Linked DNA regions of Homo sapiens: regions 1, 2 and 3 are each linked to region 4. Evidence: promoter capture Hi-C in 16 types of primary human blood cells and fetal thymus (Javierre and others, 2016). All regions are on one chromosome and are shown on one strand. Each heading gives the region's core, a stretch centred on a gene start or on the middle of the fragment in contact. The rest is flanking DNA. Distances are from core to core; before and after follow the strand shown.

What was found. The method cuts DNA at HindIII sites, captures the fragments that hold promoters and counts their contacts. A CHiCAGO score of 5 or more calls a contact.
Region 1: a fragment that was not itself captured here is called in contact with the fragment with the promoter of TAF2 in region 4 in 3 of 17 cell types (total B cells, fetal thymus and naive B cells); the score reaches 6.2 in total B cells.
Region 2: a contact is called between a fragment that was not itself captured here and the fragment with the promoter of TAF2 in region 4, in 6 of 17 cell types (total B cells, naive B cells, total CD8 T cells and 3 more). The highest score is 9.2, in total B cells.
Region 3: a contact is called between a fragment that was not itself captured here and the fragment with the promoter of TAF2 in region 4, in 2 of 17 cell types (naive B cells and erythroblasts). The highest score is 5.5, in naive B cells.

The regions. Positions count from the first base shown.
Region 1 is chr8:120,463,072-120,465,771 of GRCh38, reverse strand. It overlaps MTBP (MDM2 binding protein), which reads right to left. Exons shown (of 22, transcript NM_022045.5): 10 at 2,011-2,080. Among named protein-coding and RNA genes, the nearest start is that of MTBP, 19 kb to the right of the region's middle. The HindIII fragment of the contact is 895 bases long and covers 875-1,769 here.
Region 2 is chr8:120,426,967-120,429,666 of GRCh38, reverse strand. All of the region lies in intron 3 of MRPL13 (mitochondrial ribosomal protein L13), which reads left to right. Among named protein-coding and RNA genes, the nearest start is that of MRPL13, 17 kb to the left of the region's middle. The HindIII fragment of the contact is 7,630 bases long and covers 1-2,700 here.
Region 3 is chr8:120,404,242-120,406,941 of GRCh38, reverse strand. The region is part of intron 6 of MRPL13 (mitochondrial ribosomal protein L13); the gene reads left to right. Among named protein-coding and RNA genes, the nearest start is that of MRPL13, 40 kb to the left of the region's middle. The HindIII fragment of the contact is 2,110 bases long and covers 262-2,371 here.
Region 4 is chr8:119,831,412-119,834,111 of GRCh38, reverse strand. TAF2 (TATA-box binding protein associated factor 2) reads left to right here and starts at 1,271. Exons shown (of 26, transcript NM_003184.4): 1 at 1,271-1,630; 2 at 2,381-2,435. The coding sequence starts at 1,548. DSCC1 (DNA replication and sister chromatid cohesion 1) reads left to right here. Exons shown (of 9, transcript NM_024094.3): 9 at 1-136. It overlaps LOC105375728 (a long non-coding RNA gene), which reads right to left and starts at 1,233. Exons shown (of 4, transcript XR_928590.3): 1 at 1,036-1,233. RefSeq lists enhancers at 1,150-1,509, 1,570-1,619. The HindIII fragment of the contact is 3,868 bases long and covers 1-1,345 here.

The DNA of each region.
Region 1 (2,700 bases), core at 73-2,572, 630 kb before region 4:
AGGAGAATCACTTGAACCCGGGAGGCAGAGGTTGCGGTGAGCTGAGATCGCGCCACTGCTCTCCAGCCTGGGTGACAGAGCGAGACTCCGTCTCAAAAAAAAAAAAAAAAAAAAAAGTCTCTATAAGATTTCTACAAATTTCTCTGTAAAATTTCTATAAATTTCATCATACCTTCAAATTACTTAGAGAATATCTAATATCTAGCGCTTTATACTTTTAAGGAAACTGCTTCACATATGTGTGTCCATCATTTGGGCCACATAAACTTCAAAGACAATAAAAAATTAGTTAGCAACCATCATTTATATCATACTTGGTAGTTTATAAAATACATTTCAATTTGGTTTTTATTACAACTCTGAAATAGGTAACAGAGGGATTATTATTTCCAGTTTACAATATTAAGAGCTGTAAGCCAGTGAGTGGCATAGCTATGGCTTAAAGTCAAGTTTTCTAAAAAACATGCTCTTCTATTTAAGACTTTCTACTATACCATCTATATTCCTTTCCTCCCTTATTTGGCAATATAGATAATTAATGATAAATAACAATTTTCTCAATCCATACAAGGAAGCATCTCCAAAAAATTAGGTGACTGGACAGGGATATACAGAGAGCTACTTGGCTACCTGGATTAAAATAGAAGCAGGGTATTTTTTATTCTCAGTGCACTTAAAAAATATATACTAATTCATAAGCTGTCTCTGCAAATAGTTTGGAGAAATGTATGGCCTTATTAATCTCTATCTAAACTAGGGTCTCTTGACTTATTCCCTATCTCAGGCTGTTTATTTCTTCATAATTCTTATTATGTCTGTAGTTATTTATTTTCTGTTGGTCCCCTAAAATGTAAGTTCCACAAATACAGAAGCTTCTTCTGTACACTTCATTACTGGGTTCCCGAAATCTAGTATAGTACCTCATACACAGTAGAATATATGTTGGATAAATGATAAAAGATAAATTTTAAAATTTCAAAATTTAGTAAATTAGTTATTCTTAGAGGATGAAAGCCAGGTTAATATTGGTAAAGGCCACTTCATCAAATAAATACTTTGTCGTCCTATTCAAAGGACTATTAAATTTATGGAAAAAGAGGCCAGAAGCCAAAATTTTAAGTTACTATATAGTCAAATATACATCTTAAGGTCAAAATCATTTTTCCTTTACTATATCGATTTTCTATAGGAATTATAACCAAGACTTGATTTTAGCACCATAGGGAAACTGTTATAATTATAATAATCACTTTCTCCCTGCAGGACTATTTGCTAGTCTACTTGTTATTAAAACAATAAGAAAATGTAATGTAAGTACTGCCAATAAAGATTTTGTGCATTAAAAATTGTTTTCACAGAAACATAACAGTTGAATAAATAACTAGAAAAAAAGCAAACTTTCACTTTTTCCTATTAGAAACTGAATTTGATTTCAAATAGATGAGTCCACTTAAAATTCTTTATATTGTAATTTTTTTAAAGTTAAAAATATACCAATTTTACATCATTATATATACAAAATAACTGTTAAAGTAGCCATAAATCTCCTAAACATCATCAGAATTTAGAAAGAAAAATTGAAAACTCCCAAATGACAATTTAGTAGAACTTTAGCTTTTTCCACTTTCATCCCCTGCCCTACAATGAGAAAAAGAATGCAAGTATATGAATGTCTTCTCATAAAATTGAAATCGCATGTTGAAGAAGTAGGTTAACAATAACATGTTATAAAATTTTAAAACTTTAAAGCAATTACCAGTCATAAAGCTTATTTCTGAAAATATCTCCTAAAAACAAAATGTCACTTATGTTTGCAGAGTACTTTTACAGTTATTATGAAAAGTCCAAAGTATCTTAATATGAGTTAGGACCAAAATTATCCTATATTACATTAAAGAAACCAAGTCATCAAGCAAACAGATTAATAAGTTACATTCCCTTTTCTTACACATCCTTAAATGGCAAGTATAAAAACAAACAAACAAAAAACCCCCAAGAAACCCTCAATACCTTGCTACACAGAGAAGAAATCTGCTCCAACAGCAACACAGAATTCTGTTTGGTACTGTTTGTCAATCCTCTGTACTAAGGAGTTAAAGAAATGATGTAATGGTACCCATGAAACAATGTACTCCTTAAAATAAGTTTCATTATTTCAATTCTTCCACAGTTGCTTAAATTCATCTATTAAAAAATTTAACTGTAGCAGTTAACAATTACGCCTTTCCCTAAGGATAAGTATTTTTCCAATTATTTGTTTGATTCTGAAAATATGCTAAGAAACAGTGCTACTATATAGAGCATTACTATAAACTATAAGAACAAGAAATTTATAAAAACTGTAGCTCCTAAATAAAAATTCAAAAACACTATGCTAGTGTTTCATTTCCAGCCAATAACAATTTCTTTTTATATAAAATGTTCTGTTCTTAGGTGTATTTCTAAACATGCTTATATATTTTTAAAAGAGAGTTTAAAATATGTTGAATATATTTGCAGATACATGTGATACCATTTATATTTACTTAAATACATAAAATGATACATCAGCTGACTGATTCTTAGGTTTCTTCATGCTGATGGCAGGAGAAACATTTAAACATTTTTTAAGTTTATAAATTACTTGTTTTATTTTCCACAGATTCCTAACATTTCTCCCTCCTCTCTACACCATATACCAGGAAGTCCTCTGCCTATTCT
Region 2 (2,700 bases), core at 34-2,533, 600 kb before region 4:
AAAATTCTCAGAGAACCTTTTTGTAAGTATTATTTTTGGTTACTAAGTAGTAGTGCACAAAATGATTTACGATACTTGATCATTGTTCTGTTTTTTGAAATGAAAATTTTGGCTTTTATAAGGGGCTGATAAACATCTTTTTTTTCAATTCTTGTTTTTTGTTTTTTTTTTTTAACTTTTAAGTTCAGTTACATGTGCAGGTTTGTTACATAAGTAAACTTGTATCATGGGGGTTTGTTGTACAGGTTATTTCATCACCCAGGTATTAAGCCCAGTACCCATTAGTTATTTTCCTCTCTCTACTCCCACCCTCCACCCTCCAATAGGCCTCAGTGTGTGTTGTTCCCCTCTATGTGTACTTGTGTTTTCATCATTGAGCTTCCACTTATAAGTGAGAATATGCAGTATTTGGTTTTCTGTTCTTGTGTTAGTTTGCTTAGAATAATAGCCTCCAGCTGCATCCATGTTGCTGCAAAGGACATGATCTTGTTCTTTTTTTTATGGCTATGTAGTATTTCATGGTATATATGTACTACATTTTCTTTATCCAATCTACCTTTGATGGGCATGTAGGTTAATTCCATGTCTTTACTATAATGAATAGTGCTGCAGTGAACACACATGTGGATGTGTCTTCATAATAGAACAATTTATATTTCTTAGGGTATGTACCTAGGAATGGGATTGCTGGGTCAAATGGTATTTCTGTCTGTAGGACTTTGAGGAATCGCCACACTGTCTTCCACAGTGGTTGAACACTCCCACCAACAGTGTAAAATTCCCACCAACAGTGTAAAAGCATTCCTTTTTCTCTACAGCCTTGCCAGCATCTGTTATTTTTTGACTTTTTAATAGTAGCCATTCTCACTGGTGTGAGATGGCATCTCATTGTGGTTTTGATTTGCATTTCTCTAATGATCAGTGATTTTGAGCTTTTTTTCATGATTGTTGGCCATATGTACGTCTTCTTTTGGAAAGGGTATGTTCCTGTCCTTTGCCCACTTTTTAATGGGGTTTGTTTTTTCTTCTTGTAAATTTAAGTTCCTTATGATGCTGGATATTAGACCTTTGTCAGATGCATAGTTTGCAAAAATTTTCTCCCATTCTGTAGGTGTCTGTTTATTCTGTTAGTTTCTTTTGTTGTGCAGAAGCTCTTTAGTTTAATTACATCCCATCTGTCAATTTATGCTTTTGTTGCAATTGCAGTTTGCATCTTTGTCATGAAATCTTTGCCCATGCCTGTGTTCTTAATGATATTGCCTAGGTTGTCTTCCAGGGTTTTTATAGTTTTGGGTTTTACAGTTAAGTCTGGAATCCATCCTGAGTTAATTTTTGTATGTGGTATAAGGAAGGGGTCCAGTTTCAATCTTCTGCATATGGCTAGCCAGTTCTCCCAGCACCATTTATTGAACAGGGAATCCTTTCTCCATTGCTTTTTTGGCCAGGTTTGTCAAAGATCAAATAGTTGTAGGTGTGTGGTCTTATTTCTGGGTTTTTTTCCACTGGTGTATGTGTCTGGTTTTTTTTTTTTTTTTTTTTTATCAGTACCATGCTGTTTTGGTTACTGTAGCCCTGTAGTATAGTTTGAAGCTGGGTAGCGTGATGCCTCCAGCTTTGTTCTTTTTGTTTAGGATCGCCTTGGCTATTCAGGCTCTTTTTTGGTTTCATATGAATTTTGAAATATTTTTTTCTAGTTCTGTGAAGAGTCTCAGTGGTAGTTTAATAGGAATAGCATTGAATCTATAAATTGCTTTGGGCAGTATGGCCATTTTAACAATACTGATTCTTCCTATCCATGAGCATGGAGTGTTTTTCCGTTTGTCTGTGTCATCTCTGATTGCTTTTTATTATTAAAGTTTTTTTTCTTTTGAGATGGGGGCTCACTGTGTTGCCCAGGCTGGTCTTGAACTTGTGGGCTCAAGAAGTCCTCACACCTCAGCCTTCCACAGTACTGGGATTACAGGCATGAGCCATCATACCCAGCCTTCATCTCTGGTTTCTTTGGGCAGTAGTTTGTAGTTCTCATTATAGAGATCTTTCACCTCCCTAATTAGCTGTATTCCTAAGTATTTTATTCTTTTTGTGGCAGTTGTGAATGGGAGTACATTCCTGATTTGACTCTCCGCTTGACTGTTGCTGGTGTCTAGGAATGTTAGTGACTTTTTGCTAGTGATTTTTGCACATTGATTTTGTATCCTGTGATGTCTTTGTCCATTGATTTTTTTCATATATGTAGGATTATTTAAAATAAATCCCTGGAAGTGTAATGTGTTTTGATATCAAAGGAATGATCATTTATAGGTCTTTTGATAGGTATTTTCAATCATGAGTTTTCTAATCCATAGAAGAGCATACAAATGTTTGTTATCCCAAATCTGTGCAGGCACAGTATTATCTTTAAAAATAAGGCTGTTGTCTTTTGATATGCAGCTGAATATTTACATTTACTTAATAATGAAGTTTCAGTGTTACTTTATCACTTTCTATGGACGTTTTATCTATTAAGATTATTAATCCACTTTTGTTTTTTACTTTTAACAAAATTTTTATGTCATTTACTGTAGTTATTTAATTTTATATTATTACATGCCTTTTCCTTTGTAATTTCTTCTGTTTTCCAGTCTCAGAAATTCTTTCTTGTTCAGATTTTCATAAACATTTACTTCTAATTTTTTAGGGGTTGGTTGAATTGGGTGTGTG
Region 3 (2,700 bases), core at 67-2,566, 570 kb before region 4:
CTGTTTTCTCACTCAAAATGTAATACTATTTTCGAAAGTTACTTTGTATAAAGGCAGTTTTTGCTAGTGACAAGTATCTGCAAAATAGATAGTTGTTACAGAACATTTGATAGCTATGGAAAGTTTAGCACAATTTAGAGAATGAATTAAGGAAAGTTTTATGTTAGCTATTTCTTAGATGATTCATTAATCTCCCAAGTATATTTTAAGCACATAAATGAAAATTTAAAACTTTCGTCTTTCACTTCAAAGATCAAAGCTTGTGTGTGTTTCATATATTTTTATATATAAGTATACTATATATAAATTGTATATAAAATATATATCATAGCTGTATTAGATAACAATTACACACACACACACACACACACACACACACACACACATGCACACATATATAATCCACTGTTAGAAACTGCTTTATAAAGATGAGGACTGGGTCCTGCTCACTACTTTATTCCCGGCGCCCACAGCAGGACCTGACCAGTCAATTTGTTGAATAAATGAATGCATGAATGGAATCATATCCTCCCTGAAAGGGAAATTGATGTTCAGTTCATGAAGTGTGATAAATTCATGTTTTGGGTTTTGCTCCTTACTTAAATCTTGTCTAACTATAACTAAAATAGACATTTTTCTTAACAGGCCTTACTTTAATGCAACTCTAATATATACAATTTTGGATACTTTGTATTACATGTCTAAAGAACAATCATGGTAATTTCATTAAAATACAACTTATATTTCTGTCAAGGAGTAAATTTGTATAATTTATATGAAAAAAATTGACAGGTGTTAGCTTTCAGAAATGGCATTTGAAATATCCCTCTAAAGATTTCCTGTGATTATTTTAGAATACTGTTATTATTTACAAATATATTAACCTTATATAACATTAACGCACATTTTAAAACTACATAATTTGTTATTTCCAATGAAACAGTGACAAAGAAGTAGGGCTAATGTACAATATACATTCACCTATCATCCCTCTTTTAAAAGATTAAGCCGTTTCATTTAAGTTTCAAATATTTAAGCATTCATAGTATGAAAAGTAATGTGCTAGATGCCACCCTTCTTGTTTTTAAAAACTATTTAATCTAGTGAAGAGATTAGGTCACCTCAGCACAAAATAGGGTATGTAAGCAACATAATCTGAGAATTCAATTCTAGTTTGCATGTTACCATATATGGGTTACCAACTTTTAAAGAACCTAAATACATTTGCTGAGTACTAAAGCTGCTTGAACTACAGTTTGGGAGAAAAGAACCAGGAAAGATACTGTGTATCAAATGGAGTCATCTCTAGTTTAGGAAGAAGTATGTGTGTTACCTTCTGTTAGATAGTATTAGTAATTTCTTACTGAAGGTGCTCCTCTGTCTTATAAATAGCTCTGTCTTTGGTCTAAGGGGAACCCATGCTAATTAGAATGTGGTCCATAAACCAGCAATGCATCAAGTGGGAACTTGTTAGGATTGCCAAATCGTGAGCCCCTCCACAGAATAAGTGAAATCAGGACCTGCATTCTCATAAGAATCCAAGCAATTTGTATGCCTGCTGAAGTTTGAGAAACACAGACATAAATAGCCCTCTCCTCCCCTTTCTTATATTACCTTGAATTTCGTTGTTTTAGTGGAAAGGAATAAGCAATACAGAAAAGTTGTGTGTATGCTTGTTTTCATTTCTGTTTGAGACAGAGAGAAGTAAAACCATATTTAGTGTAAAAACCTCTCTTTTCCCCACAGGGGAACCTCCTGAAAAATGTGTATCATTAATTGCCTCCAGTATGAGTTGATGTTTCCAGCTGTGCCACTATCTTAACTATCTAGTCTTTGGCCATGATACTGCTTTTCCCCCTTTGGAAGCAAATTAACCATCTGGAAAATATCCCGATTATTTAAAGATGAATTTGCACATGAAGTGGCATTTTCAAGGGGGTCACTGTACTCTGTACTGTGCTCAGATATACTAGGCATCCACTGTGTATCAGGCATTACCGTGGCTGCTGGGAGTATAAGATAATCATATCAGGGCCCTGCCTTCAAAGGACTGGCAGCCTAAGAGGCATCATATAGAATAAAATGGTGCTTGCAAGCACCGGAGTCAAATTGTTTACACTCAGATCCCTGCCATCTACCTCCTAGCTGTGTATCCTTAGCCAAGTTACTGAGCTACTCTGAGCCTAAGTTTTGTCACTGTAGAATGAAACTAATAACAGTGTCTTTCTTACAAAGTAGTTGTGAGGATAAAATAATTCATGTGAAGTCTTTATTATACTTTGTGGCATCTAATGAGCACTCAGCATGTGTTATTTACAAGGAAGAGCCAGTATGATTAGAGAAACATTGTAGTAGAAGCATGCATTAAGCTTTCTGGCAATCCTAGAGAAAGGAGCCCAGTCTGTGTTAGAAAGGAATTGTTGTGAAGAGCTTGACAGAAAATGTAACGTTTGAGGTGGATTTTGAAAGATTAGTCATGGTTGCCAGGCAGAGAAAAGACAAAGAGGAAATTTGCTTTGAGGTCAATGTCCACATTCCTTTATGTGGTGGATTATACCATTCAATTTTACTTCTAAATTCCACTGAAAGGTGGTATTGTCATTTCATTTCAATTAAATAAATTAACCTTTTGTGTGGAAACAACTGGTGACTGTGACTAAACACATTTAATTCTATTGAGTGGAGTTGCAGACTTCTTGT
Region 4 (2,700 bases), core at 22-2,521:
TTTCAAAAATGTTAATGGCTAATCCATAATTAAAGAAGGTTTAACTGTTACTGAAGTTTACAAGTTTTATTGTCATGAACATGAAATACAAACACGATGGCTTCGAAATGTCTTTCAATAAATGTTTCTGCATTTATATGGATTATATGATATATATACACAGTCTATATATCTCTATGTAGTCTATTTATTTATTTTGAGAGGGAGTCTCGCTTTGTCTCCCAGACTGGAGTGCAATGGCATGATCTCAGCTCACTGCAAACTCGGCTTCCCGAGTTCAGGTGATTCTGGTGCCTCACCCTCCCGAGTGGCTGGGAATACAGGCGCACGCCACGACGCAGGGCTAATTTTTGTATTTTTACTAGAGACGGGCTTTCACCATGTTGGCCAGGCTGGTCTTGAACTGCTGACCTCAAGTGATATGACTGCCTCAGTTTCCCTAAGTGCTAGGATTACAGGCGTGAGCCACCACGCCTGGCCTGTAGTCTATATTTTATTCTTTTTTTTTTTTTCTGAGACAGTCTCAGCTCTGTCGCCCAGGCTGGAGTGCAGTGGAACGATCTCAGCTCGCTGCAACTTCCGTCTCCCAGGTTCAAGCAATTCTCCTGCCCCAGCCTCCCAAGTAGCTGGGATTACAGGCGTGCACCACCACGCCCAGCTAATTTTGTGTAATTTTTAGTAGAGACGGGGTTTCACCATGTTGGTCAGGCTGGTCTCGAACTCCTGACCTCAAATGATCGGCCCGCCTCGGCCTCCCAAAGTGTTGGGATTACAGGAGTGAGCCACTGCGCCCGGCCTTGTAATCTATATTTTAAAATAAATACTAAGGCAGCAGTGCCTAGTGAGAGCTGTGGAGTGCTGCAGTTTTGACATTTAGACTACCTGCAGTCTAATCACATATTTTACAGCTTAAATCACCGGACCCAGTGTGTCTGTTCACACAGCAAGCCAGAGGCACGCACCTCCTGATTTCGGGAGACTTCCCACCACCCCACCCCGCCCAGTTACTAGCACCCTGCCCCAGCCTATTTATACCTGGCTCTTCGCAAACTTTGTCCTCCATTCTTCTCAATATGCTTGTACTAGAAAACTACCTTCCCTCCTTTTCTTCCTGCTGTTCTCGCTTCATCCATTAAATAGTTTTTTCCCTATCCTAAATTTTAACAATTCTTTACGATAAGACACATGCGAAGATCGCAAGCCCTGCCCATTGACAAGACTTCCTGGTTCTACCCCCGCCGCCGTTCCACTTCCGCTGACGTCGGAGGTCAGAGGTTACAGACAAGATGTCGGCGGATGGTAGCTTCGAGCCCTTGCGGAGAGGAGCATCTCTGTGACAGAAGCTTGTCGACGGCGGCTTCTAGGAGCTAGTCGAAGGAGCGAGGTTGAGGCGGGCAGCGACCCGTCAGGTCGCTCACCTGGGCACCGGCCAGCTGCGAGACGTGACTTGGGGACCGCAGGGGAGTGGAGAGTGTGAGGTGCCAAAGACTAGTAATGCCCCGTATCCCCCTAGGAAGCCGGGAAGCCAAGCTCCGCGGGACCGCTTCATGCCGCTGACTGGTGTAGAGCCCGCCAGAATGAACAGGAAGAAAGGAGACAAGGGCTTTGAAAGCCCAAGGCCATATAAATTATAAGTATTTTTTCATTTCCCTTCCTTCCTTTTGGTTTTGTTGCCATTAATTATATTTTGCGATTGCTTGAAATTGACTTGGTGGGCCTGGGAAACCTAGTGGGAAACTAGAATTTACTCACTGTGATGGAAATGGTGTTTGTAAGGTAAAAATGTTTTGAATGACAGGTTATTCAGCAAATTTAATTCCCGTTGCAAGTTACTAAAGTTTTTGTCTAAGTACTAGATTGTATTTCTGTCAAATCTGTTTTCGTGACTGTTGCTAGATTTTAAAAAATTATCCCAATTGGTAGAGTGTTTTTTTTTTTTTAATTTTTTAATTTTTAAGACGGAGTCTCTCAGTCGCCCAGGCTGGAGTGCAACGGCGCGATCTCGGCTCACTGCAGCCTCCACCTGCCGGGTTCAAGCTTTTCTCCTGGCTCAGCCTCCTGAGTAGCCGGGATTACAGGCGTGTGCCACGATGCCCGGCTAACTTTTGTATTTTTAGTAGAGACTCGGTTTCACTCTGTTGGCCAGGCTGGTCTCGAACTCTTGACCTCGTGATCCGCTTGCCGTGGCCTCCCAAAGTGCTGGGATTACAGGCGTGAGCCACCGCACCAGGCCCCAATTCGTAGTTTTAAAATGAAATATTGACATGTAATTTTGAATTACTTAGAACATAGTCCTAATTTATACTTGGATAGAATTATACTTTGATTTAATAATAAAAATTATTTTTTCCTTATTTTCTTTTTATATTTATTAATATACAACCCATCAGGTCGTCTGCATCAACAACATAAATTTCCAGAGAAAATCTGTTGTGGTAAGTTTATTCTCAACAATTATAAATAGTAACAAGTCCACTATAAAGAGTAACAATCCACCCCTCACAGTACTTAGAAAGTTTGTAGTCTTCCAGATAATTGTGTTTCAAGAATAGGTAAGAATTAAAATTAGGGTCTGTATGATTACAAGTTCCATGGTCCTTCTATTAATACCTATTGCCTCCCAAATTCTCCCTTTCCTTTTTTTTCAATTTCCTAATTAAAATTTTATTCCTCTTTATCTGGTGTATAATATGAAAGCCT